Regions from separate parts of the Homo sapiens genome. Here all the other regions are linked to region 1. Evidence: promoter capture Hi-C in human tissues and cell types (Jung and others, 2019). All regions are on one chromosome and are shown on one strand. The core of a region is centred on a gene start or on the middle of the fragment in contact, and the rest is flanking DNA. Distances in the headings are between cores, read along the strand shown.

What was found. The method cuts DNA at HindIII sites, captures the fragments that hold promoters and counts their contacts. A contact is called where the count stands out against the background at its distance.
Region 2: a contact is called between the fragment with the promoter of CTSK here and the fragment with the promoter of LYSMD1 in region 1, in 2 of the 25 tissues and cell types used here (aorta and liver).
Region 3: a contact is called between the fragment with the promoter of GOLPH3L here and the fragment with the promoter of LYSMD1 in region 1, in 1 of the 25 tissues and cell types used here (lymphoblastoid cells).
Region 4: a contact is called between a fragment that was not itself captured here and the fragment with the promoter of LYSMD1 in region 1, in 1 of the 25 tissues and cell types used here (liver).
Region 5: a fragment that was not itself captured here is called in contact with the fragment with the promoter of LYSMD1 in region 1 in 2 of the 25 tissues and cell types used here (liver and spleen).

Annotation. Positions count from the first base shown.
Region 1 is chr1:151,164,621-151,167,320 of GRCh38, forward strand. LYSMD1 (LysM domain containing 1) reads right to left here and starts at 1,282. Exons shown (of 3, transcript NM_212551.5): 1 at 459-1,282. The coding sequence starts at 638. It overlaps TNFAIP8L2-SCNM1 (TNFAIP8L2-SCNM1 readthrough), which reads left to right. Exons shown (of 7, transcript NR_144937.2): 2 at 1,851-1,921; 3 at 2,314-2,402; 4 at 2,501-2,598. It overlaps SCNM1 (sodium channel modifier 1), which reads left to right and starts at 1,524. Exons shown (of 7, transcript NM_024041.4): 1 at 1,524-1,583; 2 at 1,851-1,921; 3 at 2,314-2,402; 4 at 2,501-2,598. The coding sequence starts at 1,533. RefSeq lists enhancers at 764-1,469, 1,223-1,502, 1,470-2,176, 1,523-1,572. The HindIII fragment of the contact is 12,820 bases long and covers 1-2,700 here.
Region 2 is chr1:150,806,688-150,809,509 of GRCh38, forward strand. It overlaps CTSK (cathepsin K), which reads right to left and starts at 1,573. Exons shown (of 8, transcript NM_000396.4): 1 at 1,527-1,573; 2 at 1-119. The coding sequence starts at 118. The HindIII fragment of the contact is 16,762 bases long and covers 1-2,791 here.
Region 3 is chr1:150,695,814-150,698,513 of GRCh38, forward strand. GOLPH3L (golgi phosphoprotein 3 like) reads right to left here and starts at 1,341. Exons shown (of 5, transcript NM_018178.6): 1 at 1,179-1,341. It overlaps HORMAD1 (HORMA domain containing 1), which reads right to left. Exons shown (of 15, transcript NM_032132.5): 15 at 2,247-2,700. The HindIII fragment of the contact is 17,441 bases long and covers 1-2,700 here.
Region 4 is chr1:150,834,813-150,837,660 of GRCh38, forward strand. ARNT (aryl hydrocarbon receptor nuclear translocator) reads right to left here. Exons shown (of 22, transcript NM_001668.4): 7 at 1,468-1,681. Among named protein-coding and RNA genes, the nearest start is that of CTSK, 28 kb to the left of the region's middle. RefSeq lists an enhancer at 1,529-1,673 and a cis regulatory region at 1,601. The HindIII fragment of the contact is 8,676 bases long and covers 1-2,848 here.
Region 5 is chr1:150,907,470-150,910,169 of GRCh38, forward strand. The region is part of intron 1 of CTXND2 (cortexin domain containing 2); the gene reads left to right. The region is part of intron 1 of LOC107985204 (a long non-coding RNA gene); the gene reads right to left. Among named protein-coding and RNA genes, the nearest start is that of SETDB1, 18 kb to the right of the region's middle. The HindIII fragment of the contact is 6,057 bases long and covers 1-2,700 here.

The sequences.
Region 1 (2,700 bases), core at 32-2,531:
AAAATCAGCTCTCCATTAGTTGCTGTAAACGTTTAATCACTCTCAACATAAAATTTTCTGTGTGGTTAATAGAGTCAGACAGACCTGTTTGAATCCCAAATCTGACGCTCATTATTTGACCTTAGCCAAACTGGTTAACCAATCCAAGTCTCAGTTTCTTCATCTGCCAAAAGGGAACGATAAATGTATACTTGATACAGATGTGAGGGTGAAATGAGCTAACGTATGTGAAGCCCTCAGCACAGTGTCTGGCATAATAAAATAGGAGCTGTTCCTCTCCGTTGGAATAGTAGGGCAGGACTTGTGCAACACTGTGATGGGAAAACAAAGATAAAGGCAGAACAGAGTGCAACACATTAGGAACATTTCAGGGGAGGTTACCTAGAAGGGCCACTACATTCTTCTCAGGACTAAATCCCTCCTGACTGTTGTCTTCACCCCAATCCTGGAAAACTCACCGTCACCCCATATTTGAGTGCTAGTCCAGCCAGGGTGTCTCCGGGCTCCAACTGATGCTCCAGGCGTCTTTCCCTCACTGGGGAGCAGGCCGATTGCACCAGGCTTCCATATGAACGAGCCCGGCTCCCTTGAAGCAGTCCTGACCCCCCTGGCGGGGGCTGTCTAGACGGGGAAGCCATCTCTTCACCCTGCCAACAGCTAAGGTTGCAACTAGGGGAGGTACGACCGAGACTGCGACTGACAGGCCTGAAGTCTGGGAATGAATATTCAGGGGATTCCTTTCCCCCTCTCTCTTCCCCTGTGTCCCCGCCTCCCCAGCACTACGCCATCTGCCCCCTCCCGGTTTCTCCTCCCTCCAAGCTACTTATCCACAAATCTGTCCCTTGAGTATTCAGTCCCTCCCTAATTCTCCCCTAAGCACCCCTCCGACTTTGGACTCCCCCACAACTCCTCGCTACATTGACCTCTGACCTTTGAACTCTAGAAATAATCCTCAACACTCTTTCCTCAGTTTGCCCCCAAGTAGCCTGGCCTCAGGGCGCTCCAACATCCCAGCTCTCCCCGGTCCCGGGGTTTGTTTGCTAGAGTCAGGAACAAATCAGGCCCACCCCAGGTGAACTGTCGCCGCAGACGAAGAGCGTGAGGATTGCAAGAATTTGTAGTACACCTTCCACTCAGAGATCCTCAAAGGTCCGCTCCGCATAAGATAGGTCACACCCTCAAATTTCGGCTCCACATCTAGGTTGTTGTCCCTCCAAACGCCTCAGATCCGCCAAGATGCAAGGGCCTGGATCCAGTTGAGCGGCAAGGTCTTTGAGAAAAGACTTCATTTCCCAAAAGGCTCCGCGTCTGCGGAGTCGCAGGGCACCATAGGAAATGCAGTTCCCTCCGAGCACCAGAGAGTGGATTTCCGGATCGCGCAATGCATGCGTGGAAGTGCGTCCCCGGAAGTACGGAGGCCGACAGGAAGAGAAGGAAAAAAGAGAAGGCGCTGTCCCGCTCTTGCTACGGTGGCCTGGAGGAGTGGCGAAACCGGAACAGAGAATTTATCACTTCTGGGACTCACAGTCGTGATGTCTTTCAAGAGGGAAGGAGACGATTGGAGTCAACTCAATGTGCTCAAAGTAAGCGTGAGCGGAGAGGATCTGGAGCCGCTTCAGTCGCTCCCTGAAGGTTGGGAAGGAGCTTTGTTTCATTGCTCTGGCAACAACTCGGGGGTGCAGGAGAGAACCAGGCGACTTAGAGCTGTGTAGTGACTCCTTTTTCGGTCTATGATCGCTGTTCTCCCCAGGGTCCTTATTCCATTTCACTCCTCATTTCTATAATTTCACTTCCACCCCTCTCTCCTATCCCGCTGATCCCGTCCGGATTTCTTCCCCTACTCCCTGCAGAAAAGAAGAGTCGGGGACCTCCTAGCCAGTTACATTCCAGAGGATGAGGCGCTGATGCTTCGGGATGGACGGTAAGAGCAAGGAGTGGCTCAAGCCTGAGGGTTCTGCGGTTAGAGGCTCAATAGACTTTTTTTTTTTTTTCCTTTGAGACGGAGGTCTCGCGGTGCTGCCCAGGCTGCCCTCGAACTCTAGGGCTCAAGTGATCCTGCCTCCTCAGCGTCGCGATTAGCTGGGTTTACAAGCGCATGCCACCACGCCTGGCTTCAACAAACTTTTGTTATTAATTAGGACAGCAGGAGTACCTAGGATTCTTTGGCGGCCAGTGAGGACTGGAAGAAGTGGAGATTGGGTCACCAGGGAGTTGGGTTTTGCAAAGACTGCTAGGACAGGGTGGGACCTATGGCAGGGACGGGCCCAACCCTCTTCCCCTGGACCACTTATCCTCTTCTCTACCCCTGCTCAGCTTTGCTTGTGCCATCTGCCCCCATCGACCGGTACTGGACACCCTGGCCATGCTGACTGCCCACCGTGCAGGCAAGAAACATCTGTCCAGTAAGTTAGGGGGAAGACGGGATGGGGAATAAACCCTCGAAATCTCTGCACACCACTCTTGGTGCTATGCTTTTAATTCTGTTTCCCTTTCTCCTCAGGCTTGCAGCTTTTCTATGGCAAGAAGCAGCCGGGAAAGGAAAGAAAGCAGAATCCAAAACATCAGAATGAATTGAGAAGGGAAGAAACCAAAGCTGAGGTAATCAGAGAGTGGAGAGTGTGTTCTAGGCAAGACCCTGCTGCACACACCAGGCTGGAAGGGCGGAGGGCTGAAGGCTCTGACTCTGTCTCCCATCTCCTT
Region 2 (2,822 bases), core at 323-2,822, 360 kb before region 1:
TGTTGTTATATTGCTTCCTGTGGGTCTTCTTCCATAGCTCCCAGTGGGTGTCCAGTATCTCCTCAGGGTACAGAGCAAAGCTCACCACAGGTAGCAGCAGAACCTTGAGCCCCCACATCCTGCAGAAGAATGTAGTTAGGGAAAACTCTTCCATTTGGCAGGGAAACAGAGGAAAACTAGGCTTTATGAGGAAGAGAAAGGTAGACGGAAAAAGGGTGATAAAACAATGATAGTCAGGAGGGGCCTGTGTTTAGATAGGATGCTGGTACATCTGGTTCCAAGGACTTTGATCTAGGGGGATTTAGCCATTTCTCTCTTTCTCTCTCTCTCTCTCTCTCGGGAGATTTAGGCAACACACACTCTCTCTGTTTCTCTCTCTGTCTCTCTCTCTCTCACACACACACACACACACACACACACACACACACACACACACACGTACACAACCAGAAATGGGGGATAGAAACTGGACAATCAGAATGGGCTCAGTGCGTTTCCTCCAGGGTCCCTAGCAGGCTTGGAGACAGACAAATAGCAAGGTGGTAGTGGGGTTCAGAATACACAAAGGAGAGATTTCCGTCTAAGTTTTGCCTCCTGATCATTTCTTCGAGGCGTTCTTCTCTTTCGTGCCTAAATTCTGGTACTTTCCCAGATCTTGTCAGAAGAGGACAAGGGAAAATAGGACAATGTTTCCTGTTTTCTGAGACATTGTATATCTCCTCATTCTCCTTATGCATTTCTTCTTCCTTTTTCTCTCCCTTCCCTCCTTAGGCAGGAAACTGCCCTAATCTTAACCAGATGCTGCGGGCAAGGTTTTTTATTTTTCCCCTAACAACAAAAACCCACTGTGGCTGCCGCAAAGGACAAGAAGCCTCAGATCCAAGGTTTGTTAGAAGAATGTTCAGACTGAAAAGCAATGTTCTATGATGATGAAATTCACAGCTTTTCATAAGTTTACTCTAGTTAGCTTCACTCATTTCTTGCATTGGCTTTCTTAATTACAAATCCTCCATTTTAAGAACAATTTGCAGCCTGCAGCATGACATATGGCTTACACAATTGCTTATAGTCCATTTACATGTAATTTTGCAAACTGGCAAAATGTCCAGTAGGACATTTAAAAACTAGAGTGTTAAGGGCTTTGAGATGTCTCAGTGAACAGGAAGCACTGAGCTACTACCTCCCCATACCACTCTCCTCCTCCTCACTAAGGAGTTAACCGTTTTGATCCTTGTTGGCCAAAGTAGAAAACACTGCAGAAAGGCCACTCTTGAAGGATGGGGAAATGATTCCCTATATACTTTGCTTTTACTAACAATCATGTATGTATATATATAAATCATACAAGGAATTCTACAGATTTCCAGGCAGATTTTATTTAGCCAGGGAATGACCTAAGAAGTGCATCTCTGTTTTCATCTGCAGAGGCTAAAAGTTTATTGTGATCCTCAAGTCACTACATCCCTAATACTCAGAGAATTGACAGGAATGAAAAGCTAAAAGATCTAGGAAGTTGCAAACGTTACCTGCTGATGGAAATCTGTTGTCTGGCTTCGTTTCGGCAGCAAAGTGTGGGCACACCATCAGGGGTGCTAGATTTATTCCATCGGGATTGCGGAAGTCAGCTCCAGTGATCGGCTGGAAAATTTGGGTAAGAGGAGGAGGCGGGGATAGAAATGCTGAGAGAAGGAAGGGTAGGGAGGAGGGAAGGAGGCAGTGGATTTGCAGTGTTTCTGTGTGTATGCAGCATGTGTGCCAGGGTAGGGAATTACTAGCTATTTAGTCTCACAAGACTGTCTTTGGTGGCAAATAACAAGACCTCAATATCTATTGACTCAAATAGGAGCTTACTTTCTCTTTTGGTGAGTAAAAGGAAGGACACAGCCCTAGTCTCTCCCATCCTTCTTCTTCAATATCTTTATTTTAATATTGGGGGATTATATCTTTTCCTACCCCTTTCCTGTTAGGATTTACCTCTCCAACATTGAAACCTATTTTCATATTTGTGTCTGACTCTCACCTCTGGGATGCGGTAATGAACATAAAAGGCTATAAAAGAATAATGTAATGGAAGCCATAGGCTCCAGAATTCTTTGTATTTTTATAAGCTTGTTGGTTGCAAGTTGTCATTACTTCCAGGCAGAATAGTTTTCCCAGCCTAATGTGGTTTTGCTGAAGGAGGATATGCCCAGAAAGTCCAGATGAAACTGTCTTTAAAAGTAACCAAAAACAGCAGTCCTGGTTATTTATGACAGCACTTGAATCAATGCCGTAAGTTCTGATGGACTCACATGTGACTCTGTTGCTAAAACTCTCAGGTGGTGGGATGCCCGATAAACATCATCTGTCTCAATTAAAATCCCCAATCTAGGACAAGTCACATGAGCTTCTCCAAATGCTTCCCCAACATCCAAGCATGTGACAGATCATAAGAATCTAGCTGATTCCTCAAACCACACCCCAAACTTCATTTTCTTCCATAAACAGATGTGGGGAAGGAGAAAAAAAGGCTTCTTGGAATAGAAAGGATAATAAATGGGATCTGTAATAGACTCAGTTTCTAGCTGGATTCCATGCATAAACCCTCAAAAATACAGGCTTATGCCTCTGGATTTTAAGAGCTGCTAACAGGCTAGGCGCAGTGGTTCACGCCTGTAATCCCAGGCCTTTGGGAGGCCAAAGCATGTGGATCACCTAAGGTCAGGAGTTCGAGACTAGCCTGGCCAACATATAGTGAAACCCCATCTCTACTAAAAAAAAAAAACACAAAAATTAGCTGGGCATGGTGGCACACACCTGTAGTGCCAGCTACTTGGGAAGCT
Region 3 (2,700 bases), core at 91-2,590, 470 kb before region 1:
TAGCTAGCCATATCTTGCAAATACACAAGGAGCTGCAAACAAAAATTACTGGCAAGAGAGTGTTGAAAGATTAACAAATTTTCTCAATTTAAAAAAAAAAGTCAAAGAACATGTCTTTTATTCTATGTACTACGGTCAAAAGAAACTGCACTAAATCATTTGTGATAAAGTTTATAGTTAGCATACTTTATTTTATATAAATCTAGATATCAGTTTTTAAGATAATATATAACAAATATTTTAAATCAGCAATTATATAAAGGAGTATCTTTTTCAAGATCAAAATAATGGTATTTAAGAGTTGCTATGACTGGACTCGTTTCTACTCCTCTAGCAATATTTCCCATTGCTCCTAATAAGTAGTGTTGCCAGACTTTTTCTCAAAAATGTCTCATGCTTTCTTTCTGCTTCTGCTCCTCTGTACTTGCTGGGGTCTTCACCCTTTTCTCTTCCTCTTTACATTCTACCCATTCTTTAAAGGCCTTGTGAAGGCCTTTAAGTGACCTCCTCTTTTCTATTACCTATGTGTCTCATGGCCACTCCCTCAGCTGTTTCACAGAGCTTTATTTATACTCACTTCCTTTAAAGTATTTATTATAGTCTTTCTCTTGGTATAGCTGTCTCTCAACTGTAAACTTCTTAAGAACAGGGATATTGTCTTCTTGGGTTTATATATTCTCCATAGCAACTAGCACTGTCTTTAACATTGTTATTGCTCGATAAATTTATATTGATTAAAATGAATACTCAGAAGTGCATGTGAACATTTAAAATAGAAATACAAATGAAGTGAGCTACAAAAGTTTTTTTGTACAAGGGTATATTTCAAATATAATTTGTTATGGGAGGTGGGAAGAAAAGTGAAGGAGGAAGAGAACCATGAAATAAATTCTTAAGCGCACTAAGCCTATCTGGCACTGTGAATAGGGACTATTTCCTAAACCAATCCAAGAAACTTTAAACCTTCGCGGGGCAGGGGGGGAGGGGGAGAGGGGGCGGTTTCTTTGAGAAATTAGTTTCATCTGCACATTTACTAGTTAAAAATCCTACTTGAAAGAAAACAAATGGCCCAAATGAATACAAACCTTTCCCTCCCATAAAATAATAATTTTAAAAAATAGAGGTTTTTTTTGGTGGGGGGAAGGGACGTTAGGAAATGTAATTTTCTCGTTGCTTACCTGATGTTACTCCTGGGTTATGGCTGGACGCAGGCTGTAGCTTGTGCTGTATTTTAGAAGGACACCTGTTCTCCCCACCCCACCCCCGTCCTAGTAGGTGAAAAACTTAGCCACGCAGAGAGCACAAACTTCCTGATCCTTCGATGCAGAGAAGGAATAACACATCAGCTTCCTCAGGATCACTAGGCAACCTACCTTGGTGTTTCTTCATTGCGCCAATCAGAAATCACCAAGGTTGAGTCCCGCCAATCGGAGCTCACAGGGGGAGGCTCTCCCCCAGCTATTCTGTTGCGATCCAGACAAACACCACCAAAAGGAGGCAGGTTTGCGTTCAACCTGACAGCTGGTCAATCCAATGAAGGAACCTTGGTGGAAGAGAGGAAAGAGGGCTGCGCTCCCCACCCCCATTAAACCAGCCAATCAAAGCGCTGAGTGAGCTAACATGGGCTGCCAATCTCGAAAGGTTTCTGTGGGTTAATTTCAGCGTAGCAGGTGTGTTGCTGTAGTAGCGTATACTGGGACAATTAAGTGAGATGTGTTGGGATCCAAGCAATACAGCTAAAAATAAATAAATATTTTTACATTGGTTGTTTCTGACAGTCAGTTTATCCTTGACTTGACTGTTCCAGAAAAACATGATCTGGGTCAGTTTGTGTACGTTTATATGGTTTACCTTAAACAGGATGAATACATTTCTACCATCGCATATGTACCAGCATTCCCTATAGCGCTTATTACTGACAAACCCATGGATGTGTATGTTTTTGGAATATGGCTGCTGAAACTACAAGCGGCAAACAGACCAAGTTTTAAGTCTTCCTTTTTCTAAAGCAAAGAAAGCAGGCAAGGCTGGAACTAGCTCCCAGGTTTCTCATTAAAAGCACAGCATTTTTCATACTACCACTCAAAAATTCTAGAAAGTGTGCTCAACTCTTCTTGCAAAGTAATAGCTACCGAAATCATCTAAAAATTAGTATTCCCTATCCCCCCATCCTCCTACCAGCCTTTCAAATGAATGAAGCCATATTTCCTGCTACTTAAATAAAAATTAGAAGCGATAAAAGGGCCTACGTACTGAACAATATTTTATTTATGCTGCAAAAAATGCCATACTTTAAAAATCAGTCTTTTTGTCCTGTAAAAAAAAGCATAGTAAAGGTAAAGCACCAATTCTTAAATTGTACATTATATATTAAAATGTTAATACATTATGTCAAAATATTGAAGAACATTGTTTTAATAACAGCACAATGACAAAAGAGCCAGTTAAATGGTATAATTTTAACATAAGTAAAAAGTGAATCCATACCAAATTTTAATACCAAAGTAAACATTACTGTTTAGAAAAATGGCATTAGAGGGCCTTAACAGTTAGTATATATTTAAAGGAAATATTAAGTAGGTAATGAACAAAATCAATTTTGAAATTTTACTTATTACCGAATCAATTATGACATTTGTACTTTTGCTTTTATTCAAAAGTTCTATTGGATTTATCTCAAGATTAAGGACCACAATATGA
Region 4 (2,848 bases), core at 289-2,788, 330 kb before region 1:
ATTATCATCAATGAATCTCACTCTTAAGTTCAAAGGCAGCATTGAAAATAACATTGTGCAAGGAAAAGTAGGAGTGGAAAGTAGTAGTAGAAAACAAGAGGCAAGGCTATATTCTCATAGCTGATTATCTGTATACACATACAGACATACATACAGAGTAAATGTCATTGGTTGAAAAACAAGTACTTTTCTGTAGTCCCAGCTAATCAGGAGGCTGAGGCAGGAGGACTGCTTGAGGGCAGGAGTTTGAGGCTGTAGTGTGCTATGACTGTGCCTGTGAAGAGTCACTGTACTCTAGCCTCAGCAATAAAGCAAGACCTTGTCTCAAAAAAAAAAAAAAGAATAAAAAGAAAAAATTTTAAAAAGAAAAAAACCAAGTAATTTTATATGTTATAGAAACATATAGATCTGTTTGTCTTCTTTATTATACAGAAACGAAGAACAACTTTTGGGGAAAAGGAAGAACTAGAAAAATGAAATCATAAAAACATAAAGGAGGGGAAAACTGGTCAAGTGTGGTGGCTCATGCCGATAATCCCAGCCCTTTGAGAAGCCAAGATGGGAGGAGGAATGCTGAAGGCCAGGAGTTTGAGACCAGTCTGGGCAACAGACAGAACCTGTCTCTACAAAAAATTTAAAAATTGGTCAAGTGTGGTGACATGAACTACTCCTAGCTACTCAAGAAGCTGTAAGCAGGCAGATTACTGAGCCCAGAAGAGTTCAAGATTACAGTAAGCTATGATGTGCCACCGTACTCCAGCCTAGGCAAGAGAGAGACCCTGTCTCTTTTTTGGGTGGGAAAAAAGGAGGAAAACTAAAGATCAACAACACTAATATGAGTATATTGAAATTTCTTGCATTTTAACTACCAGTTTTTTTATCTGCTTCCACTTTAAATTTTTTTCTAGAGTTGCTCAAGAATAGATATGACTTGTTTCCTCTAGCCAAACTCTGGCCAAAAGACTGAACATAATAAAATAGGGGAGAAAAAAAGAACAACAGTACAGATACAAACAACAACAACAACAACAACAGAAAACACCTTATACATTGACCAATAACCATATCTATAGAATAAAAAGCTGTTATCATTGAACCTAGCACAAAGCCAAGCACCAGGAGGTAGAAAAAATACCAGATAATTATCCATACAAATGAGATAAAAACATGGATAATTCTTTTAGAACGGAAAAAAAAAAGTATTGTAGGTTTGGCTTTTACTGTTCTATTTATACCAATATTAAGATAAATGTAAAATATTATCACCAATGAAATATTTTCTAAGGCTGAGCCACAAAGTAGATAATCTCATATGGATAAAAAGAACTGACTATATTCATTAAAGTAGAAAATTCTTGAAGCCTTGCCAGAGTCAACAAACCAATTTAACAGCTAAAACATCTCTTAAGTCTCAGGAAAAAAACAAGAAAGGACTTCTCATTCATTTCCCATACACATAACTCTCACCTGTCAGGGCATTTTCTGAAGTGGAAAGCTGCTCACGAAGTTTATCCACATCATCTGGGTGCACCTGATCATAGAGTGTGCTGCCAAACCATTCAGACTGTGGCTGGTTCAAAACAGGAGTCACGGAGTCAGACACATACACCACCCTGCCTGTCTCACATGAGACAATAAACAGAAAGCCATCTGCTGCCTCCAAGATCAAATGTTTCAGTTCCTGCGCAAGAAAAAGAAATAGAAGTTAATATTTTACTCTGAAAAAACAAGTATTTCTATTCACAGGAAGAAGTAAGACACTTCAGGCCACATGCATCTCTCCGTAAGCAACTGCTGGTTCACACCTGATCCACAGCCACAGGTTTCCACCCTAAATGTAGTTCATCGATAAGAAAGTTTTTTCTAATACATGTTTCCTCACTTTCTCTATGTCACTATCCACCTCTTCCTCTCTATCTCAGGATTCAAGAAGAATAAAAAGGCTTGGGCTAGGCACAGCGGCTCCCGCCGGTAATCCCAGCACTTTGGGAGGTCAAAGTGGGAGGGTCACTGAGTCCAGGAGTTCAAGACCAGCCTAGGCAATGGGGCGAAACTCCATCTTTACAAACAAACAAAACAAAACAAAACAAAAACAAAAACAAAACTAGCCAGGTGTGGTGGCACACGCCTGTAGTCCCAGCTACTCCGGAGGCTGAGGTGGGAGGATCACCTGAGCCTGGGAAGCAGAGGTTGCAGTGAGCCGAGATCATACCACCACACTCCAGCCTGAGCGACAGAGCAAGAGACCCTGTCTCAAAAAAAAAAAGGCTTACCATGAACAATAATTGACTTCTTAATTCCATCCTCTCTGGTCTCTTTTTAGGATCTTGCTTGACAAATATTCCCACTTTCTCTCTTTCCCTTCAGGCCTATAAAAATGATCAAGTTTTCTCAATTCTAGATAAATCTTCCCTCAGTTTGACCCACCTCATCTCTCTTTTTCAGCAGCAAGCTTATACTAAGAATAATGTTATATTCACTGGCTTTATCCTCTTACCTTTCAATTATTTCTCAATCCCACTTCACTCTCACTCTAAACTACTGTTTTCCTGTTTGGTTTGGTTTTTGTTCTGCCAGGAACAGCATACATATATTTTTAATGAGGTTACTAATGTCCTCCTAATTACCAATTCAAGTCCCTTTTCCTGGGTCTTCATCACTTTATTCAACCTCTCTGCAGAATGTGACAATGTCGTCCATCTTATCCTTTAAATTTTATTTTTCCCTACCTTCTTCTATGAGACTGTACTCCAATTTTTGCTTCCTCTTCTGTTTCAGACTTCCTTTCCTTTGTTCAAGTCTTAAATGTAGACATTTCCAAAGTTCATCTTAAGCCCTCTTTATTAAT
Region 5 (2,700 bases), core at 192-2,691, 260 kb before region 1:
AGTTTCATCCAAGTAGTATGTACTTCCTTTTTATGGCCAATAATAGTCTATTGTGTAGACATACCACACTTTGCTTATCCATTTATAAGTTGATGGACATTTGAGTTGTTTCTACCTTTTGGCTATGATGAATAATGCTGCTACAAACATTCTTGTATAAGTTTTTGTGTGGTCACATGTTTTCATTTCTCCTGGGGACAGCCATAGGAGTGGAATTGCTGCGTCATATGGTGGCTTTTTTTTTTTTTTTTTTTTTTTGAGACGGAGTCTCGCACTCTCACCCAGGCTGGAGTGCAGTGGCGCAATCTTGGCTCACCGCAAGCTCCGCCTCCCAGGTTCACGCCATTCTCCTGCCTCAGCCTCCCGAGTAGCTGGGACTACAGGCACCTGCCACCACGCCCGGCTAATTTTTTGTATTTTTAGTAGAGATGGGGTTTCACCGTGTTAGCCAGGATGGTCTTGATCTCCTAACCTTGTGATCCACCCGCCTTGGCCTCCCAAAGTGCTGGGATTACAGGCGTGAGCCACCGTGCCCAGCCAGCTTTTTTTTTTTTTTTTAGACAGTGTCTCACTCTGTCACTCAGGCTGGAGTATGGTGGCATGATCAAAGCTCACTGCAGCCTCCCAGGCTCAGGTGATCCTCCCGCCTCTGCCCCCCAAGTAGCTGGGATTACAGGTGTGCGCCATCACATCTAACTAATTTTTGTATTTTCTGTAGAGAGGAAGGTTTGCCATGTTGCCCAGGCTGGTCTTGAACTCCTGGACTAAAGTGATCCTCCACCCACCTTGGCTGCCCAAAGTGCTGGGATTATAGGCGTGAGCCACCATACCTGGCCAGTAACTCTTATGTTTCATAATTTTAGGAACTTCCAGACTGTTTTCCAAAGTAACTTTGCCACTTTACATTCCCACCAACCGTCAATGAGGGTTTCAATTACTTTCTACCTTTGTCAACACTTAATCTGACTTGATTCTAGTCATCCTAGTGGGTGTGAAGTGGTATCTCAAAGTTTTGATTTCCATTTCCCTGATGACTAATTACGTTGACCATTTAAAAAATGTGTTTATTGGCCATTTGCATATCTTCCTTATGCAGAAAAAGAAATTTCTATTCATATCCTTTGCCTAATTTTTAATTGAGTTGTCTTTTCATTGTTTCGTTGTAACTTTGGTTATCAGGTCTCTCTCCGTCACCCAGGCTGGAGTACAGTGGTGCGATCATAGCTCACTATAACCCTGAACTCCTGGGCTCAAAGGATCCTTCTGCCTCAGCCTCTCCAGTAGCTAGGACCACACACATATGCCACACACCTAGCTAATTAAAAAAAAAAAAATTAAGAAACAAGGTATCTCCTTACTACCCAGGCTGGTCTCAAACTCCTGACCTCAAGTGATCCTCCCACCTCATCCTCCCAAAGTGCTGGTCAGGCATAAGCCACCGTGCCCAGCCCATTTTCTTGATAATAAGCTTCTTAAAGTACAAAAGTTGGCTGGGCGCAGTGGGTCACGCCTGTAATCCCAGCACTTTGGGAGGCCAAGGGGGGCAGATCACCTGAGGTCAGGAGTTTGAGCCCAGCCTGGCCAACATGGTGAAACCCGACTCTACTAAAAATACAAAACGTAGCCGGGCATGGTGGGGGCGCCTATAATCCCAGCTACTCGGGAGGGTGAGGCAGGAGAATCGCTTGAACCTGGGAGGCAGAGGTTGCAGTGAGCCGAGATCACGCCATTGCCCTCCAGCCTGGGCGACAGAGCAAGACTCCTTCTCAAAAAAAAAAAAAAAAAAAGTACAAAAGTGTTGACCAGGCACAGTAGCTCATACAATCCTAACACTTTGGGAGGCTAAGGAGGGCAGATCTCTTGAGCCCAGGAGTTTGAGACCAGCCTGGGCAACATGGTGAAACTCCATCTCTACCAAAACAAACAAACAAAAAACAATTAGCCGGGCATGATGACGTGCACCTGTAGTCCCAGCTACTTGGAAGGTTGAGATGGGAGGATCAATTTAGCCTGGGAGGTCGAGGCTGCAGTGACCCCAGACGGCACCATAGCACTCCAGCCTGGGTGACAAAGTGAGACCCTGTCTCAAAGAAAAAAGTTTTAAATTTTGATGAAGTCCAGTTTCTCTCTTTTTTGTTGCTCGTGATTTTGCTGTCATATCTAAGAATCCTTACATTTAGGTCTTTGATCCATTTTAAGTTTATCTTTGTATGTGGTGTGAAATTGTTACCAAAACACCAGGAGTTCGGTCTAGGTCCTGCTGCTCACCACACAGAAAGATGAGCAATACCTGCCCCTGAGATGACAGGTATTGCCAAAGAAGAAGGCTTTACTCAGGTGCTGCAGCAGAGGAAACCGGAACTCAGTCACAAATCCATCTCCCTGACCAACTAAAATTAGAGGTTTATATAGCAAGGAAGAAATGTAACAATGTGTAGGAAAACAGGAACTCAGGAGGCCAAGAAAGCACTTGTGACCAATGAGGGGTCTTGCACTTCATTGTCAGGATGGGATGATCTGGTTGAGTTTCAGTTCCTTGATACTTTTTTTGAGAGGCCTGGTGGCCCTTTCCTGAAGAAGGAACTCAACATAAAACAAATGTAAGTTTTAAGCTTTAAGACCAGAAGGTCAATTTCTTTTTCTTTTTTCTGTTTTTTTTTTTTCTTTTTTTTTTTTTTTGAGACGGGTCTCCATCTGTCA